Regions from separate parts of the Homo sapiens genome. Here all the other regions are linked to region 2. The links are contacts of gene promoters, found by promoter capture Hi-C in blood cells and fetal thymus (Javierre and others, 2016). All regions are on one chromosome and are shown on one strand. Each heading gives the region's core, a stretch centred on a gene start or on the middle of the fragment in contact. The rest is flanking DNA. Distances are from core to core; before and after follow the strand shown.

The links. Contacts are between HindIII fragments. The CHiCAGO score rates a contact against its expected background, and 5 or more counts as called.
Region 1: a contact is called between the fragment with the promoter of IMPDH1 here and a fragment that was not itself captured in region 2, in 1 of 17 cell types (neutrophils). The highest score is 5.1, in neutrophils.
Region 3: a contact is called between the fragment with the promoter of HILPDA here and a fragment that was not itself captured in region 2, in 1 of 17 cell types (neutrophils). The highest score is 5.2, in neutrophils.

Annotation. Positions count from the first base shown.
Region 1 is chr7:128,408,559-128,411,781 of GRCh38, forward strand. IMPDH1 (inosine monophosphate dehydrogenase 1) reads right to left here and starts at 1,424. Exons shown (of 17, transcript NM_000883.4): 1 at 1,198-1,424; 2 at 883-926; 3 at 731-794. The coding sequence starts at 1,343. RefSeq lists a silencer at 951-1,570 and an enhancer at 1,841-2,080. The HindIII fragment of the contact is 8,032 bases long and covers 1-3,223 here.
Region 2 is chr7:127,711,822-127,714,750 of GRCh38, forward strand. The region is part of intron 9 of SND1 (staphylococcal nuclease and tudor domain containing 1); the gene reads left to right. Among named protein-coding and RNA genes, the nearest start is that of SND1, 61 kb to the left of the region's middle. The HindIII fragment of the contact is 5,686 bases long and covers 1-2,929 here.
Region 3 is chr7:128,454,075-128,457,131 of GRCh38, forward strand. It overlaps HILPDA (hypoxia inducible lipid droplet associated), which reads left to right and starts at 1,804. Exons shown (of 2, transcript NM_013332.4): 1 at 1,804-1,949. It also overlaps the pseudogene EFCAB3P1. RefSeq lists enhancers at 1-538, 1,447-1,616 and a silencer at 1,717-1,856. The HindIII fragment of the contact is 2,271 bases long and covers 1-1,853 here.

The DNA.
Region 1 (3,223 bases), core at 174-2,673, 700 kb after region 2:
AAGTGGGGGGTGCGGGTCGGTTGGGGGTGGGGGTAGGGATGGCCCCTTGATGCAGAAGTGCAATCTGGAGAAAGGATGCACTCACATGGCTCCGGCCTGAGCTCTGAAACATTATGTTTGCAACCCCTACTCTAACCAAGCACTGCCTCTGTCAAGCCCCAACCGGCTCATTCAGCCCCTGTGGCCCCTCCCTATCGCCCTGCGGCCTGAACCCCAGGAGCTGGATTTCTAGGACAGGAGAAAGGCTGGGAGTTGCCTAAGCCTGAGTCAATTCTAGAGAGGCAGCCTGCCAGGACAGGGGGGCCTAACTCAGCAGCCCCACTGCCGAGGAGCCCCTTAAGCCGTTAAAAGTTCTTACATAAGCGGCCAACCCCTGGGCAGAGCTGCCGGGCTAATTCCCCCAGACCACCCCCATCTAACCCAGCTGCCAGGTCACCTCCCCAAGCTGCTGAACACCAGCAGATGGGCAGAGAAAGAAGTCCAAATCCTCTGGACCGGAAGGACAGTGGGATTGCATTTCAAGCTGCGATACAATCCAGAGATTAGCTGCTGTCTCCTTTTCAGCCAGTCCCCCTGGGGCCCAGCTCACTACCCTACTCTTCCTCCAGTGTCCCTCATTCCCCTACAGACCCCAGCATGGGGGCCTGCGTCTTCGGAGAGACCTTGAGGTGAGCTGCACTGGCAGCCTCTCAGATCTCAGTGCATGGTGAGGAGGGGAGAGTGTCCTCACCTAGCCCTGCGAAGGCGATCCATCTGGACACCAACACCTGCCAGTAAGACCACTGAAGATAGTTCTAGGAGGAAACAGCTAAGGAGGGGTAAGCCAAGTCAGTCGGACAGGACTCCAGCAAGCACTGTTTGAACCCCAGGAGTTGGAGCCACCTGAACGGGGTGTCGTCGGGTGTGTAGCGAGGTCCAATCTAGGGCTAAGATTTTAGGGAAGGTTTTTACGACCTGTTCCCTCTCCTCCGCTCCCCCGTGCAACGAAGCACCTAACCCTTCGCACAGTGCCCGTCTGCATCCCCCAACCAAAGCCGGGAGCGTGGCGTTTCGGGAAGTTAGAGGCTGAGGCGGTAATAGGGGAAGGGTTTGTGGGGCCTGCCCCTCCCCCGCAGCGTCGCCGGGTTCCCGGAGCCGCCGCGCCCTCCTCGGCCGCCCGCCCCGGATGCGCCCCGCGCGCTCTGCCCTGGGCGTCACCTCTCGGGCTCGTAGCCGGCCTGCAGCAGTCGGGCGCTGTACCGCTGCGCCGCCGTCTCGTGTCCCGGGTGTTGCCGGGCTCCGGGCTCCGGAACAGCGGCGGCTCCGCCTCCCTGCAGCGGTGGTGGAGTGAGTGGCCCCTCCATGCGGAGGCCGCAGCTCAGGGCGGGCGGGAGCCTGGAGGCTCCCGGGGCCCCGGCTGGGCAGTGAGCGCAGCCCGGTCGAGTCCCGAGGAGGGGCGGGGCCGCCGGGGCGGGGCCTCGTGCCGGGGGCGGGGCAGGGGAATCCGGGAGTCGACTGGGCTCCGCCCTGGGCTCCCCGCTCTCCCCGGCGCTGCTACGCAGATGCCTAGACTCGGTTCGTCTCTCCCATCCCAGATTCAGCGAGGGTACATCGGGGGATGAGGGGGAGAGGTGTCCCTACACGGGTGGGACTGGAAAGAACCCCGTCCCCTTCCCTGCCGTCCGGACCTTCCAGTGTCTCCTGGCCCCTTCCGAGGAAAACCAGAAGAGGAAAGGAGCTGGACTCCAGAGGCAGGGCTTCTCCTTGCGTCTCAGGTCCGCTCCTCTCTTGCACGCCGACGATGCCAGGTCCCCTGGAGCGCCTCATACCCGCAGACCGCAGACCTCCCGCGCTGGGGCGAGAGAGTCGTGCTCAGCCGACTCCACGTTAGAGAGCGGGGAGAGGGATCTCCACAGCCTGTAATCTGCCAGGGAACGAACAGAACAGACAAGGCTGCGGGCTCCTTAAGGAACAGGACCTAGTCTTGCCTCGTTGTGGAGGTACTTTACCTTGTTATGTTACCCCGTAACAAGGGAGTGGGGCAGAGCAGTGTACTCAAACTTGTTTGTCCACTTACTAGAAGGCGCACTTTTTCCTACTGTTATCATTGTGAACGGTGATTGAACACCTAGCAAAAATGGCAAAGAAATGTAAGAGTCCTTGCCCTCAGGCAATTTATTTCAGGAGACAAAGTAGATGAAAATAAACAGCTGATAATTCTCATGCCATATACAGATGGTCCTCGACTTACAATGGTTGACTTAAGATTTTTCAACCTTACAGATGGATTTACCCTGAGGTAGCCCCATCTTTAAGTCGAGAAGAATCTGGAAATTTTATTTTATTTTATTTTATGTTATGTTATTTATTTTTTATTTTATTTGAGACGGAGTCTCGCTCTGTCGCCCAGGCTGGAGTGCAGTGGCGCGATCTCGGCTCACTGCAAGCTCCGCCTCCCGGGTTCACGCCATTCTCCTGGCGCAGCCTCCAGAGTAGCTGGGACTACAGGCGCCCGCCACCACGCCCAGCTAATTTTTTGTATTTTTAGTACAGACGGGGTTTCACCGTGTTAGCCAGGATGGTCTCGATCTTCTGACCTTGTGATCCGCCCGCCTCGGCCTCCCAAAATGCTGGGATTACAGGCGTGAGCCACCGCGCCCGGCGCATCTGGACTTTTGTCTGACAAGTCTGAGGGAACAAATGGTAAACACTGCGTGATTGAGGAGTGCTAAGATGTATTAGGGGTCAGACTTTCAGCAACGATTTCACAAAGGAAGCTGAATTTATGCAACAGTAAGATCTTGGACTTTATCCTTCATCGTGCCTCTTCCTATGCACATACACACCCACTCCCCAGAATCAGGATTCTTTTTTTATTTAAGTTTTTTAAAATTTAGGTTGGGCGCAGTGGCTTATGCCTGTAATCTCAACACTTCGGGAGGCTGAGGCGGTCAGATCACCTGAGGTCAGGAGTTCCAGACCAGCCTGGCCAACATGGCGAAACTCCATGTCTACTAAAAAATACAAAATTAGGCTGGGCACGGTGGCTCACACCTGTAATCCCAGCACTTTGGGAGGCTGAGGCTGACGGATCACGAGGTCAAGAGACTGAGACCATCCTGGCCAACATGGTGAAACCTTGTCTCTACTAAAAACACAAAAATTAGCTGGGCATGGTGGTGTGCGCCTGTAGTCCCAGCGACTTGGGAGGCTGAGGCAGGAGAATCGCTTGAACCCGGGGGGC
Region 2 (2,929 bases), core at 210-2,709:
TACTGTTTTATTTTTTAAGAACTTTTTTTGTTCTCTGCATGTTTCTCTTTTACTATTTTAAAAAATAAAGTTTTATACTGACTTCAGAGATAAAAATCATCTCTTAGCTTTCTGCGAAATTGATTTTTTTTTTTTTAGTTTCATTTTTACTGCGCACTCACTATGTTCTTCAAGCCTCTCCTCTCCCCTTCTTGGGTTATTTTGGTCCCTTATTTTTCATATTAGAGGCTTTCCTCAGATATTTGCTGAGTCTTGGTTTTCTGTCTTATTTGAGAATAAGATATTAAAACACTGAGTTTAGAAGCAATGACCCTAGTGTGGGATTTAGGGTATACATATTTGCTTGTTTGTTTTTGAGACAGGGTCTTGCTCTGTCACCCAGGCTGGAGTGCAGTGGTGCCATCACAGCTCACTGCAGCTTCAAGCTCATGGGCTTAAGCGATCCTCGTGCCTCAGCCTCCCGAATAGCTGGGACTACAGGTGCACGCTAACACACCTGGCTAATTTTTAAATTTTTTGTAGAGATGAGGTCTCCCTATGTTGCCCAGGCTGGTCTTGAACTCCTGGGCTCAAGTGATCCTCCCACCTTGAGCTCCCAAAGTTGCAGGGATTATAGGTGTGACCCACCATGCCTGGCCAGGGTATACATCTTGAAATCCATCTGCTTCTTACAAAGATTTGAAACCATCCATCATTTTTGGTCCCATTTTCATTCCCAATTGAGATGCTTGATTTGACAGTTTCTGAGTCTTGGCAGATTAGGGAGAGTGGGACTGCGGTATAAATCAGATTGCCTATTGTGTTTTCTCGCCACTGTCTCAGGATTTAGCTTTTGTGAGTCAGTGGAGTAAGTTACTACTCATCCATCTGCTTTCCAGCTTCCAGGGTTTTGTTGCAGTGTTCTCTCTCATTATCTTCTTCCTTTTGGGCTTATGTATAGATACGTTTTACAGATCCCTTTTATCTAGAGGTGTTTAGAGAGGGACCCAAAATAAAGAGCTTACTTCTTTAATTGATGTGTAATATTTCATTGTAGGCTGCAACATAATATTTTTGACCAGTCTCTAATAGGTTTATATTCATGTAGTTGAGAATTTTTTTCGTTATTTAGAAAGTGGAATAAATCTCCAAGTAATTGGCAGTTATTTCCTTAGAAATTATTTGGCTCACATTTGCCAAACATGTCTTTAGAAATGTTAACCAGTATATACCACTAAGTGTGTTCATTTTCTAATATGTTGTAAAACAGGGATTGGACAGCTTTTTCTTAAAGGACCACATTGTAAATATTTTAGGCTTGGTGGCCATGTGGTCTCTGTTGCAACTACTGAACCCTGCCATGGTAGCAGGAGAACAGACATGGACAGTGTGTAAATGAATGGTTGTGGCAATATTCCAGGAAAACTTTATAACAATATGAAGTGGGCTGGATGGCCCTTGGGCCATAGTTTGCCAGCCTTTCTTGTAGAACACTGGATAGCAACATTAAGTTAAAAATGGAAAAAAATACATGCATTACTTTTCATAACCTGGAACTCAACAGCAGTTCTGTATCATTTTACCTGATTTAAAATATCTGTTAGTGGCAAACAGCTTTTTTCAGGGAATCCTAAAAAAGTTCTAAGATACCTGGGACCTTCACATAGTCTGAAAGTCCTGCAAGTCTTCCCTGAGTGATTCTGCTTTCAAGATCATGTGATTGTGAAGCCTTAACAAATAGTGATTCTCTCTTCAACAATCACCCTGTTTTTTAGGAATTAATTGTACAGGGCCCCGCTAAAAGCCTCAAAAGCCTGCAAAGGGTAACCTATGGCCTCTAACTGGATGCCTCTGGGGCTCTACAGTTGATTTCTGGAACTGAGGCAAAGCTGTAGGTCAGAGTGCCAAGAGGCTTATTAAGCCTGAGAAATGTGAAACTTGACAAAGTATTCTCTGATACATGTGGCCTATTGAGAGACTGGTTCCCTTTGTCTGCTTAAGCAGTTTTACTTCTTGAGGAATGAAATGCAAAGGAAGGGCTCTCCTTGTCTTTCCAGGTTAGCAGAGAAGCATGTTCACTTCACAGCGATTAGCTGAGCTTGCCCGAGACTTTTGTGCCCGTCGTGGCCTGCCAGTTCCCTCCCTGCCTTCCCTGTGGCGTTTTAGCTGATCTGTGCTGTTTGTAGCCATATGGTCCCCTGAGCACGTGGCTTGGCTTCCCTGTTCCTGCTGCTGGATCCTTGGGCATTGCAGATTTCACAGACCTGAATAACATTGTTGTGGGGGGTGGGGGAGGGATGGAGTGGAATCATGTCCTCAAGAGGTGTCTCCTTACCACCCTACCTGGTTAGAGGCTTCTTGCTTGGTCCTCTGTACCTATATATAGATTAAGCAGAGCCCTGAACTAGGTGCTTTGAAAAGATGTAAAATAACTAGAAGTGGTTCCTGCCTTCAAGGAGCTTACCTGCTAGGGCTTTGTCTGGGAGCAGTAAGTGGTTAACTGGCATTGGTGGCCAAGTCCAGTTTTGGAGATCAGGATATAAACTGTCCATGGGTACAGTAGATTTTAAAATGTATTTGGTTTTATTTACCCTGATAGTTTTTTGCTGTGCTTCCAGTCATAGCTCTAGATGGAGTTCATTATCATGTCTCTGAGAATTTTTTTCCTCAAATTGTTTATAATGACAAAATTCATAACATAATATGTAGTATCTTAACGATTTTTAAGTGTACAGTTCAGTGGTATTTATATTCATATTGCTATGTAGCTATCACCACCACATATCTCTACAACTCTTCATTTTATAAAACTGAAACTATACTCATTAAGCAATAACTCTACATCCCTCTGTTTCCCCTCTTCCAGGCCCTGGCAACCACAATTCTACTTTTTGCTTCTGTGATTTTGACTACTCTAAGTAATTCATATAAGTGAAATCAGACAGTCTGT
Region 3 (3,057 bases), core at 554-3,053, 740 kb after region 2:
ATTGTAGAATTCCTGCATTCATTCAGCAAGCCTAGGCTGCTAATGAGCAAAACCCCTCACTGGGAGTTTTGTAGTTGATGATACAGATAATGTTAAGATTCATAGAATGTTTTTTATGTGCCAGGCATTGTTCTAAGCGCTTTATATGGATTAATTCATTTAATATCAGGTTAAGACTGTTATGATCTCACAGAACAGCTGAGGAAACAGAACTACAAGAAGGTTAAAGGGTTCGCCCAAGGCCTTCACCTGGCAAAGTAGTGGCGTTTGGATCTGGCAGTGATTTCGCAGCTTGAGACCTATTTAATAACAGTGTGAGAGAAGGGTCACACAGTCAAGCAAAAAAACAGACGAAACTCTGGTATAGCGAAGGACCAAAAGTTCTGCGGGCTGAGCAGGAAAGTTGGCTCCAAATGTCTGCCTGCCTGCCAGCAGACCTCCAGCCCCAACCTTCTGCTTTCCCGGCTTCCCCACCCCCTCATTCCCGACAGACCACAGCCAGCCAGCCAGGAAAGGAGGGGAAAGGTCGCAGTGGGGATGGCTCCTCCCTTCCCGTCTTAGAGCCCTTCTTAAGCAGAGCCCGCCGAGCTCGCTGAGATGTGGAAAGTCACAGGGTTCTTTCCCATCCGGCACGGGCACTTGACCCGGGTACACGGAACCGCCAGTTCTAAAGCCACCAGCGGCCTTCCCTTCCACGGCGTGTACACCCCTTCCCGGGGGTCCTCCCCATTCCCAGTGTCTCTCCGGGACTCTACTTTCTGAGATCCCCCGTTGCGTGCTCTCAAGACAGACCGCACAGTCTTGGCTGGGTGGGTTCGGGGGTGATTAGTAAGGCAGCCTAGCCCCCCAAATCTGGACATAAGGCTGGTCTGTGACCTCCTGGCTCTTTAGTTCAAGCCGAAAGCACCCTTAAAAATCATCTAGCGGCCGGGCGCGGTGGCTCACGCCTGTAGCCCCAGCACTTTGGGAGGCAGAGGTGGGAGGATGGCTTGAGATCAGGAGTTCGAGACCAGCCTGGGCAACATAGCGAGACTGTCTCTATTTAAAAAAAAAAAAGAAGAAGAAGAAGAAAAATCATCTAGTGGCCAATGTCTTCATTACAGATGAGAAAACCGAGGCCCATTTAAATACCAAGTGACTTGCCCATATGCAGTTAGGATCCCACACCAGGGCCAGGAGTATTTCACGTTTTCTGAAGCGACACGACAAACTCTCATAGAAAGCAGAGCTTGCAGAGCTTAATATGTTGCACAAGGGCCTCACCATTCCAGAGATACCGATGGCAACTGAAACTCGGGATTTGGAATCTTGGTACAGCTATGAAGTGAAACAAAACCAGCTCTTCAGTCCTTGAAATGAAGAAAATAACGAGTGGGGTAGGGGTCTGGTGCCCTCTGACAATTTAGTGCACCCGAAATCTCTGGGGAAGAACCCACCCTTCACGGCGGGGCTTCACGGACACGAAGGCCATCGGTGTTTTTCACCTACTGGGGAGAAGGGATATGTGCTCTCTGACTCCTTCAAATGTTTTCTACAGCAGAGATGGCAGTCGAGATTAATACACACGCCTCGTCTCACTCCAGAACACAATGACTCAAAACCGCACGACGTGTACTTTTGGAAACAGCTCCGCGGGAGAGCACCCGGGACAATCCCCAAACCCCGTTGCCCGCGGGGTGGGGCCGCGGACGTGCGCCACGTCGTGTGCGTCCCGGGCGTGCGTGCGGCCTCCAGTGCGCGTGCGCGTACCCTCCTGGGGCGTGCTCGCGGCTATAAGGGGCGGAGGCTGGGCGGCGTTGCTCTGCGCTCTGCGGCTGACGGCGCTTTTGTCTCCGGTGAGTTTTGTGGCGGGAAGCTTCTGCGCTGGTGCTTAGTAACCGACTTTCCTCCGGACTCCTGCACGACCTGCTCCTACAGCCGGCGATCCACTCCCGGCTGTTCCCCCGGAGGTGAGCGGCCCTGTGGGCTTCCCCGGCTCCCCACCCCCATCGCTAGAGTGCTCGCCGCGCTAGCAGCCTCGCGTTCCAGGGCTGGGGGTGCGCCGCCGGGATCCTCTCTGATCGCCCACGCCCCATCTGGGGTCCCCATTCAGCCGTCAGCCCTGTTTTGTCCTAAGGTGGTCCTAACTAGGATCCACGTGGCCCATCCCACGCCCACAGGTGCTGAGTTAGGCATCCCTGCCATGCCCTCCCAGAGCACCTTCACGATCTCCTTGCTGTCCCAACACTTAGCGTGTTGCGTGTTAACTACCCTTTGTCTATAAGGTTTGCAATGTGGCCCTAGTATCTTCCAGGGTACCTAACACATTGCAGATATTCATGGTATGTTTGTTAAATAAATGAACTTGATAGATTTGACCCTCATAGAGTTATTTGGACTTGCAAAAAGTTTGTAGTTAACTCCAATCTGTGATGTGGGAGAGACTTCTAGGCAGGTTCCTTTCTCCAGGGCATGTTCTTATATTTCCCATTACCCACCACCCCCCTGCAAAAGGACTGGGCCTATTTCAGGAAGGTGACTGATGCCTGCACTGTAGCACAGGGGTTGTGTATTGTGCCTTGCAGGAACAAAATTTTCAATAAAGTAAATGTTTGTTTGTTTGTTTTTGAGACGGAGTTTTGCTTTTGTTGCCGAGGCTGGAGTGCAATGGCGCGATCTTGGCTCACTGCAACCTCTGCCTCCCGGGTTCAAGCAATTCTGCCTCAGCCTCCCGAGTAGCTGGGATTACAGGCATGTGCCACTATGCCCGGCTAATTTTTGTATTTGTAGTAGAGACAGGGTTTCACCATGTTGGTCAGGCTGGTCTCGAATTCCTGACCTCAGGTGATCCACCCGCCTCGGCCTCCCAGAGCGCTGGGATTACAGGTATGAGCCACCGCGCCTGGCCTAAGAAAGTAAAAGTTTTAAGAAGTGTTCTTGAATTAGTCCAAGAAGCAACACTGGCTCCGCAGCCATGAAGTTTGCAATGTAAAATATTCTTGGAGAGTTGCTGTGCAACTCCCTGGTCCCTGTGTCCCTCACTGGCTAAGCCTCTCCTTCAGCCCTGTGAGAGGACAG